3 separate regions of the Homo sapiens genome follow, and all the other regions are linked to region 1. Evidence: promoter capture Hi-C in 16 types of primary human blood cells and fetal thymus (Javierre and others, 2016). All regions are on one chromosome and are shown on one strand. Each heading gives the region's core, a stretch centred on a gene start or on the middle of the fragment in contact. The rest is flanking DNA. Distances are from core to core; before and after follow the strand shown.

Region 1 (3,163 bases), core at 445-2,944:
TCCTGAAACCCTATCATTATAAATATTTTCTTAAAATTCCTTAGTCACTAAGATTCTGCATATAAAACATGAGCTAACAATTTTTGCAAGCATTTTTAGCTTTCTTTGTGAATTTTTAAAGGATAGTACAGGTAATCTGAAGCTATGCATACATGTGAAAACTGATTTTAAAAGTAAAACTTTACGGACATTTCAAATAGAAAATATTTATCCATATGATATTTTACTTGTAATAGTAAAGTATATGATGCCAGTTGTATTCTCTAGAAATCAGACTGTGAATTGAAGTTTAGCATGCAGGATGTTTATTAAGAACTGTCTTGTTGGACTCAACAACATGAAAGGGATGAGGAAGAAGCAGGACTGGCAGAAGAAAAGCTGAGCTTCAATGCAGGCCCCACCACCTTGGTAAACCCAACAGAACCTCAGAAGATGGCCATACCTTTATACCCCAACCTTCATCAGCTATGAAAGTAGGCTGCCCTAAGGAGTGAATAGTATGACTTTGGATAAAAAGGCAGGAGCTGGGAAGTGTTTCTTTTAAGAGGTATCTGGATGCTACATCACCTTGTCTACCACAATACATGAGTGATAATAATCTATAAGTAAACATTTCCAGAAAACATATCAAATGTTATAGAAAAACGTTATATCTTCTATTCTTGATATAAAATTCTGCTTGGCAATTTATCCAAATCAGCAAATAACCAAATAATATCAACCCTATTTGAGATGTTTTTGAAGGTCAAAAGTAGCATTTTAATAGCATCTATTCATTCACTTTGTAAACTGTCATCTAATTATATATTTACATATATATAATAAATGTTTTCTACCTCTGTTCACAGTCTTCAAACATGAACAAATTATTCTTTTTCAGCGAGAGGAATAAAGGAAAAGAAATCTTCTCTTTTCTCTTCATTCTGAAATACTAAAATGAATAATTTATATTCCCAGATTCCGTTCCCTAATCTTTCCCCCAAAATAGAAATGTTCACTCCATGGAGCAGGGTTTGAATTTGGTTCTCTCCTATACTGACCCAATAATCATGAGGTTGCTATTAGTTTCCCTATTTTAAGGTGAGGTCGAGTGACTTGTCACAGATTCTAATACTCATTATTCAAACACATTTTCTATCACAATCTTCAATACTTTCACTTATTTTGTTTTCTTTCAAATTTAATTTTTTTTAATTTTATTATTATTATACTTTAAGTTTTAGGGTACATGTGCACAACGTGCAGGTTTGTTACATATGTATACATGTGCCATAAGAGAGACTTCAGGATACAAAAAGTTGTTCCAAAGGCAAAAACATACTTATACTTTAGAAGAAAATTTAACTTTTAAAAACAGAAAAGTCATCATTTCTTTGTACCCACACAAGTGGTGATCCAGTTTTTTACATTTCCATTGGGAATTTTCTGTGTCTAGATTCCTCACTCTGCCTCAGGCTGTTCTTTTCTTAATTCAGTCCTTCCTGTGTAGTTTCTTTATTCTCATTTCATGGCACCTCTTCCTCCCATTGCTTTTCCCTTCCTCATTTTTCAGTCTGTCCTTTGGATGTCCATGACAGGGGCAGCATTTGTTTCTATAGTAACGATGATGCTCCTTCACGGATCTCCAATACCTCGATGTTCTAACACAGCCATTCAGGATACCCTGCCTTTCATCATTTTTAGTCAGACAGGAAAAACTGAAGGGATTCTTTTTAACAAAGGTGTATCTCAGAACAGAATCAACGTTACATGTTTTCTTGGCCCTGTTAAGTATGCTGTACATCTGGAGGCATTGCTTTTAAAGTAGAGCATGGCTTTGCAATACAAGATTAACATTCTTCCCAAAGTCTATACGGCATTGCGAATATCATACATTAGTAGGTAAATTTAAATGAAATACTTTATGTATGTAGGTGTGTGTGTGTGCATACATGTAAAATCACTAAATATATATGGAGAAATCAACACTGTCCATTATACTTTCTTAGAATTTATTAGGTTCTCACAAAGTTGAGCCAAGAGGCCACTGCTTTGTTTTCCAAATGTCCCAAATTCTATTTCTGCTAAATGATGTCACTAATGTCATGGTTACAACAATACTGCACAGAGCCTCCTTCCTGCCACTGGCCACCGATACAATAGATCATTTAAGCAGCTGAGTCATTAGTAAAAACAATAGATTTTTCTACTGATACTCAATTGAACATATATTTCCAATTGAACATAGAATTCATGGAAATAAATTTTAAAGTTTCCTCATATTATATTAGACAACAGTGTATATCCTGTATTCTTTAATTTGTTGAGGATATAATCTGTCTCCATAAATCCGTATGCTGAATCTCTGAATCAAAGAAACCTAGGTAAAAGGGACTTTTTGTTGCCTATGTCCCAAAACTACTGTCTTTTTGAATTATTCTTCTAAAAATAGTTTTAAATGTATTATTTATTTGTGTGGAGTTTTCACACTACTTTAATTCCTAGCAGTTGTGTGGGAAACGTAAATACATTTTTTTCATCTCTAAAGCAAAAGGTAACCCGGGATCCAATTCGTATTTATACAAAATTAAAGTGAAAGGCATTTTGAGGATGTACACGGTGGTTGAAATGCTGAAATTAAGTTCTTGGCATTACTGGTATCCAACCCCACCTTGCTGCCTTCCACATTTATACATTCAGGAAGCCCCATACCACACTGCAAATGGGCATATCACTTCATTTCCTGCTCTATTCTCTTGAAGGATTATTTAGGAAATCCATGCATATGTGGCCCAGTTTTAGAAAATATCATGTCAGCATACTAATTTTAATACAAATAAGTTACATGTTAATTACATGAGTTTTCATGTTTTTAAATATTAAACGTAGGTCTAGTTGAAAAACCTCCAGAAATAGCCAGGTCTCTTACTTAGATACTCTCTTCAGCACCCTCTATTATTTGGTGAGGCATCCTAAGAAGGTATTTTTGTTACTCAAACCATACTACTCCTGTTTTAAAGCCCATCAGCTGGCAATACTAACACAGACACCACACTCCCACTCTTTTCCCTCTGCCAACAACCAGGCATGGGAAATGTATGAAATCCATGAGGGTAACTGACCTGACAGTTGTAACATTCAGAGATTGTAGCTTTTCCATTCACAATATCTGAAATGAATTTTA
Region 2 (3,163 bases), core at 178-2,677, 460 kb before region 1:
AGAGTGCAGATATAATAAGTAGTACAGACAGCATGAGAATGAACTAGGAGCTGAAGTCACCAGAAAAATGTGTGTATGGGGTAATAACCTGGGGCTCAGTAACTAATAGCTTCAATTCCTGTAGACATGATAATAATGTTACTGAAAACCTCAAAACAGAACATAACCAACAAACACACTTAAGCCCAGAAGTCAGTAAAACATTAATAGTATGAATTAAATTGAGCCCTTTGATGTTTTTATCTGATAGACAACTCACTTCTAAGAAAAGATCTGCATGATTTACCAACAAATAAAAACTACGAAAAATATCCAAAAGTCCAGGTTTCTGTATCTTCTGGTTTCTGGGTCTTCTTTTGGAAAATGGGAAGCTTTGTTAATGTCAGCCTCAAACTGACACATGGGAATAATAAACTAAAGCTAAATGCTGACTATCCAATTAGGACATACTCTTTCTAGTTTGTCACAGTCTTCACCACCCCCTCCTAATCACATCTAGCTTATCACCTAGTGACTTATCTCTCTTGACACGGAAAACTGTATCAGGAAAGTGTATCAGGAAAGTATATGAACCCCACCTTACTAGAAATCCTAGCTTTGTGCATATTTTTCCAAGTTCCTAATATTTGGAAATAGAGGTTTCAAATTTTCTTTCTTTTTTTTTTTAACATGGTCTTGTAATCATATGACAGATTCTTCTTGCCTGTGGCATAGATAAGCCCAATTCACTGAGATAGCATTATTGCAGTAGAGTTTAATTAATGCAAAGCCAGCCAAGTGGTAGAATAGGAGTTTATTATTACTCAAATCAGCCTCTTCGAGAACTCAGAGGCTAGGGCTTTTATGGGCAATTTGGAGCTAGAGGATGGGTGCTGCTGATTGGTTGGTGATGAAATCATAGGAATGTGGAAAACGGATGGTCCTCATGCGCTGAGTCCACCTCTGGGTGGGAAACACAGGACCAGCTGAGTCATGAGTCACTGGTCTCAGTCGGGTGAGTTGCCAGAATGCAAAAGTCTGAAAAATATCTCAAAAGACCAATCTTAAGTTTTACAATAGTGATGTTATCTATAGGAGAAATTGGCAAAGTCACAAATCTTGTGACTTCTGGCCATATGATTCCTGAGCATTAAGAGATTATAGAAAAACAAGCTAGGGACAATGGCTGGTTATTGTTTAGCTACACCTACATTTTAGCAGAATTCAGGCCCCTCCCGTAATTCTAATCATTGTTCTTTCATGCCAAAAATTCAGACAAAGGTGGTTTCCATTCCTGAACAGGAGGGGATCAGTTTTAGTAAGGGACTATTATCAATCATCCTTACATTAAAGTTAAACTATAAACTAAATTCCTCCCATGGTTAGCTTGGCCTACACCCAGGAATGAGTGAGGACAGCCAGCCTGTGGGGCTAGAAGCCAGCCTGTGGAGTCAGCTGTGCTAGACTTCTTTCACTGTCATAATCTTTGCAAAGGTTGTTTTAAGTTTGCTCTGTTGCCCTGGCTGAAGTGCAGCATCATGGTCATAGCTCACTGCAGCCTCAAACTCCTAGGCTCAAGCAATCTTTCCGTTGCAGCTTCCCAAGTAGCTGGGAATACAGGCACATGCCACCACACGCAGCTGAAAGTTTCAAATTTTCTACCTTAAAAATTGAAATAGGCTGGGCGAGGTGGCTCACGCCTGTAATCCCAGCACTTCCGGAGGCTGAGGCGGGCAGATCCCTTGAAGTCAGGAGTTCAAGACCAGCCTGGTCAACATGGTGAAACCCCATCTCTACTAAAAATACAAAAATTAGCCAGGCGTGGTGATGGGTGCCTATAATCCCAGCTACTTGGGAGGCTGAGGCAGGAGATTCACTTGAACCGCGGAGGTTGCAGTGAGCCAAGATTGCATCATTGCACTCCAGCCTGAGCAACAGAGCAAGACTCCGTCTCTAAAACAAACAAACAAAAAACCACAAACAACAACAACAATAACAACAAAAAAATGGAAACTTCTGAATATTTGACATGAGGCTTTTGATGTGTTTTTGTTTGTTTGTTTTTGTTTTCATGGTTAGCCTGTTTCTCTTAAAAGCAAAGTTGAGAGAAGGAAAAATACCCACATACTGTATTCTCTTTTCAGTTAGACTTTAGGTTTACCAAGTTTTACCCCACTGCCCCACCACTTCACAATTAATTATGCACATTGAGAAATTGTAACTTATATCAAATTATGTTCTAAATATATTGTTTGTTTCATGGAAGTAAAGATTAATAGCCTAAAAGGGGCTTTAAAGATTATATGTTCAACCCTCTCAATTTATAAGAGAATGGAAGCTCAAGGAGTTAAAGGAACGTGGCCAAGTTCATGCAGCCACACTGCATGGCAGAACTTAAATTCAGATTCTTTTTTTAACTCCCCCAAATTATATTTAAAGACCATAATTAGTTTAGGATTTTTGGAAATACTTTTATCATAAAAAATTGCAAAGGCAGAAGCTTACAGAGTTGAATATATTATATGTATGCCTACCACCCAGCTTTATTGAATTTTAATATGTATTTAGATTTGGAAATAAAATATTATAGGTAGAGTCGAAGCTCTTCTCCCATGTTCTCCTCCAAAATTCTCATCACTTCTGCCTTTCCTCAGAGGTAACGATCTGAAAAATTTGATGTGTTTCAGGAATTCCTTTAGGAACACTTTTAAAAGGAAATAAATTCTAAAAGTAATTACATTTACAGAGAGTTTTTATTCTTACTAAACTCAGTAAACCTTTAATGTTAATAAGAGAATGCAAATAAAGTTTGTTTACAGAAAGAAAAAAAAAACACCCAGTGGAAGGAAACTGACTGTCCGGATATGTCTTCCAGCAAAACACCAAACTGAAACTAAGTTTTACTGACTAAAGATCATACATAAGAGATCTTTTGGTTTAATAATAAGAACCAAATCCTGTTTCTCTATGAGTGAAAATGGAGAGAGATGCTTTATGGGCATGCAACCATGGAGTAACAAAACACCCTATAGCTCAAGGGGTCCTTTGCTTGGCTTAATGCTCTGTTATTGCTGTCTCAAAATTCTAGATACTTTTTAAACAAAGGGCACCATATTTTTATTCTGCCCTGAGCCTTGCCAATTATGTTGCTGGTTCTGGTTCCCAAGGCAAGTGGCAGCTAGCT
Region 3 (3,163 bases), core at 309-2,808, 420 kb before region 1:
TGGATGAATCAAGTGTTGGCTAAATTTCTGAGAGTCTCTTGAGTGTTGTTAAGCCTTGTAGAGTCGTACTCAGAAAATATGTCTTTAGTGTGTTGGGATCCTGATGAAAAAGCTAATAAACTTAGGCTGCATTCATTGAAATGTAATATCAAGTTGAAAACAGACTACAGGAGGAGTAGTCATGTCCTGTTCTGAGAGCTATACTTATACAGTTACACTGGAATATAAAGTACAAGAAATGCCATCCAGGAATGAGCCTAGGAAGAAAAGTTTACCGATAATAGTTGAGTGAACACTGGATGTTTTCCCTGAAGAAATGAAGACTCACAGTTACCTAATTTCAATTAGTTAGTTACAGAACAAAATCAAGCTCAAGGAACAATGGAAGAAGTTTAGAAGTGTCCTCACAAAGAATTAGCTTGGTTAGGTTTGCTCCAAAAGTCTGCATAAAGACTCAGTGGAAGTTTCTGGTAGGCAAATTTGGGAATCTAAAATTAGGAAGAAAACCCAGAATTTTCAACTATAGAAAGAGAGCTGCTTCTCAAAACAAAATCCACCCCAGACTGAGATTTTCCAGCTGAAGCTGGGAACTTCACTTCATGTAATCTGTAAAGAATCCTGTGATTAGAGGGAGTAAATCTGATTAGGAGCAAAGGGTTAAGAAGGTGTTGAAGTTGGACACACCTGAGTTTGTACACCAGCTCCATAATTACTTGGCTAGAAATTTGAGGAAGGCATTTATCTTATCTGAATCCAAGTCTTGGCAATTTTTTTTTCTTTTTGAAATGGAGTCTCACTATGTTGTCCAGGCTTGAGTGCAATGGCACAATCTAGGCTCACTGCAACCTCTGCCTTCTGGATTCAAGTGATTGTCCCTGCCTCAGCCCCCCTAGTAGCTGGGATTACAGGCATCTGCCACCATGCCCAGCTAATTTTTGTATTTTTAGTAGAGACAGGGTTTCGCCATGTTGGTCAGGCTGGTCTCAAACTCCTGACCTCAGGAGATCCGCCCACCTCAGCCTCCCAAAGTGCTGGGATAACAGGCATGAGCTACCAAGCCCGGCCTCAAGTCCTAGCATTTTAAAAATAGAGGTAACACTTTCCTCAATGAGTTTGTTTTGTGATGAGTAAATAAGGTCTGGTATGTCAATAGTCTGCTAAAATGCTTGACATATAGAAGTCACTTCTCTGAGTAACCTATGAAGTCCTTCTCAGTTTTAAGAATGCCAAAATCTGAGAAAGGTACAGGGAGTGTATGATATTTTTTACTAGGTGTATTTTTACATGTTGATTCTCTTTTATTATACATGCTATGGTCCTGCCATGTATTCCATTGGCTTGAAATACCCTACATTCAAAGCCATGGCCAGAGGTTCTGAAATGATTGTGAAGATCACTCAGGGCACATTTGGTGTTTTCAATATGGAATTATGAATGAGCTCAGTTAAGATGCTTCATTTTGCTTTGTCTTAGACAAAACAGCAATACTTTACTGTCTATTGCAATATCAGAGTTTGTGTTTTGGTTTTACTATAAAGTAATTCCACAAACATAGAGAAGTCATTTCACTTCTGATGACCTCAAATTCCTTATCATTGAAACAAGGATGTTGATTAGATAATCTTTAAGACCCTTCCTATTTATAAAAATAACAGGCTTTTTTCTTTTTTTAATTTAATTTAATTTTATTTTATTATTATTATACTTTAAGTTTTAGGGTACATGTGCACAATGTGCAGGTTTGTTACATATGTATACATGTGCCATGTTGGTGTGCTGCACCCAGTAACTCGTCATTTAGCATCGGGTATATCTCCAAATGCTATCCCTTCCCCCTCCCCCCACCCCACAACAGTCCCCAGAGTGTGATGTTCCCCTTCCTGTGTCCATGTGTTCTCATTGTTCAATTCCCACCTATAAGTGAGAACATGCGGTGTTTGGTTTTTTGTCCTTGTGATAGTTTGCTGAGAATGATGGTGGTTTTTTCTGTATGGGCAGTTCTGTCAACATTTTTCCAGAATGAAAAAAGTAGATAACACCCTGGAGAATGCAACTTGAATTCCAAAGAACTTTGTCACGACAGAGAATTAGGAAGAGAGCAATGGAAAAATGTTCTCTGGAAACTAATACAGAAAATAGTAAATTGTGCTAATTCAAGGTAAGAAAAGTAGCAAATTTGGATTATATGAGACTTCAGCTAAACATGAGTCAGGGAGTAAATAACAAATAATGAAAAGAAATGCACTGGGTGTCCTGGAAATCTTATATGGGAAGGTTAGGGAATACTTCAAGATCTCGTTTCGATAGAGGAGGAGGGATTTTCCAGACATACCAGGGGTTCAGCATTTAGGGCTCAGGCCCTGGTGTGCGTGTGAGAGGACATGTTGTACTGCTGGAGCAGCAAGCAGGTTTGATACATCAGGAGTTCCAGGTGTGCATAAAGGAGTAGAAAGGCATGAGGAGGGAGGAGAAAGAATGTGTTTAGAAGCTACAGTGTGGTGAAGAGGAGTAGTAGGAGCCTAGGCATAGTGCATTTATTATCTTCATCTTTCTAAAAGAATTACACAGGGACCATGCAAAGTACTATAGAGAAAGAACTAACCAGCTAACTTATTTCTTTCCTAGCTTCCTTTTGTAAATATTTACTGTGCATCTGCAATAGAACATACCTAGTGTTAGGTACAGCAGACATTCAAATCCTCTCTCTAGGCTATAGGACATCTCTCCTCTGCACAATACTATGATTTGGGAAATCTGGCTTGTATTCAATTTAACCATCCCCTGGGTCCCCAAAAAGTTGCTCCCTCCTGCTTTGGCTCCCTGATTCAGCAGATGCCTCAGGTTAAGCCCAAATACCTTTCTTGGTGCCATCCACAGGAATCTCAAGTATACCCAAGACTCTACCTCTTTTTTTCAGTACTGCTATTTTATAGTTCTCTCTCCCTCCTGTTTGGCATGGTAAAGGGGCAGATTAATAAGCCACTAGCCAAGAATATTTCTGAGCAGGGAACCAATTCAAGTTTCCCCTTGTTGCAGGCATGCCCAATCTTTGTAAGAGTTTCTACTGGAGCCCCACTTGTTAGGAGGAAGGGAAGCAATCAGCCACACCTCCTGCACAGGTGATAGTGAAGAAGAAAATAGCCTCTCTTTGTGAACTCTGTAC

What was found. Contacts are between HindIII fragments. The CHiCAGO score rates a contact against its expected background, and 5 or more counts as called.
Region 2: a contact is called between a fragment that was not itself captured here and the fragment with the promoter of PDE4B-AS1 in region 1, in 2 of 17 cell types (total CD4 T cells and total CD8 T cells). The highest score is 5.3, in total CD4 T cells.
Region 3: a contact is called between a fragment that was not itself captured here and the fragment with the promoter of PDE4B-AS1 in region 1, in 6 of 17 cell types (naive CD8 T cells, total CD4 T cells, naive B cells and 3 more). The highest score is 8.0, in naive CD8 T cells.

What each region holds. Positions count from the first base shown.
Region 1 is chr1:66,049,249-66,052,411 of GRCh38, reverse strand. It overlaps PDE4B-AS1 (PDE4B antisense RNA 1), which reads left to right and starts at 1,694. Exons shown (of 3, transcript NR_123718.1): 1 at 1,694-1,881. All of the region lies in intron 3 of PDE4B (phosphodiesterase 4B), which reads right to left. The HindIII fragment of the contact is 6,978 bases long and covers 1-3,163 here.
Region 2 is chr1:66,504,099-66,507,261 of GRCh38, reverse strand. No RefSeq gene overlaps it. Among named protein-coding and RNA genes, the nearest start is that of SGIP1, 28 kb to the left of the region's middle. The HindIII fragment of the contact is 2,108 bases long and covers 374-2,481 here.
Region 3 is chr1:66,465,778-66,468,940 of GRCh38, reverse strand. No RefSeq gene overlaps it. Among named protein-coding and RNA genes, the nearest start is that of SGIP1, 67 kb to the left of the region's middle. The HindIII fragment of the contact is 3,391 bases long and covers 1-3,163 here.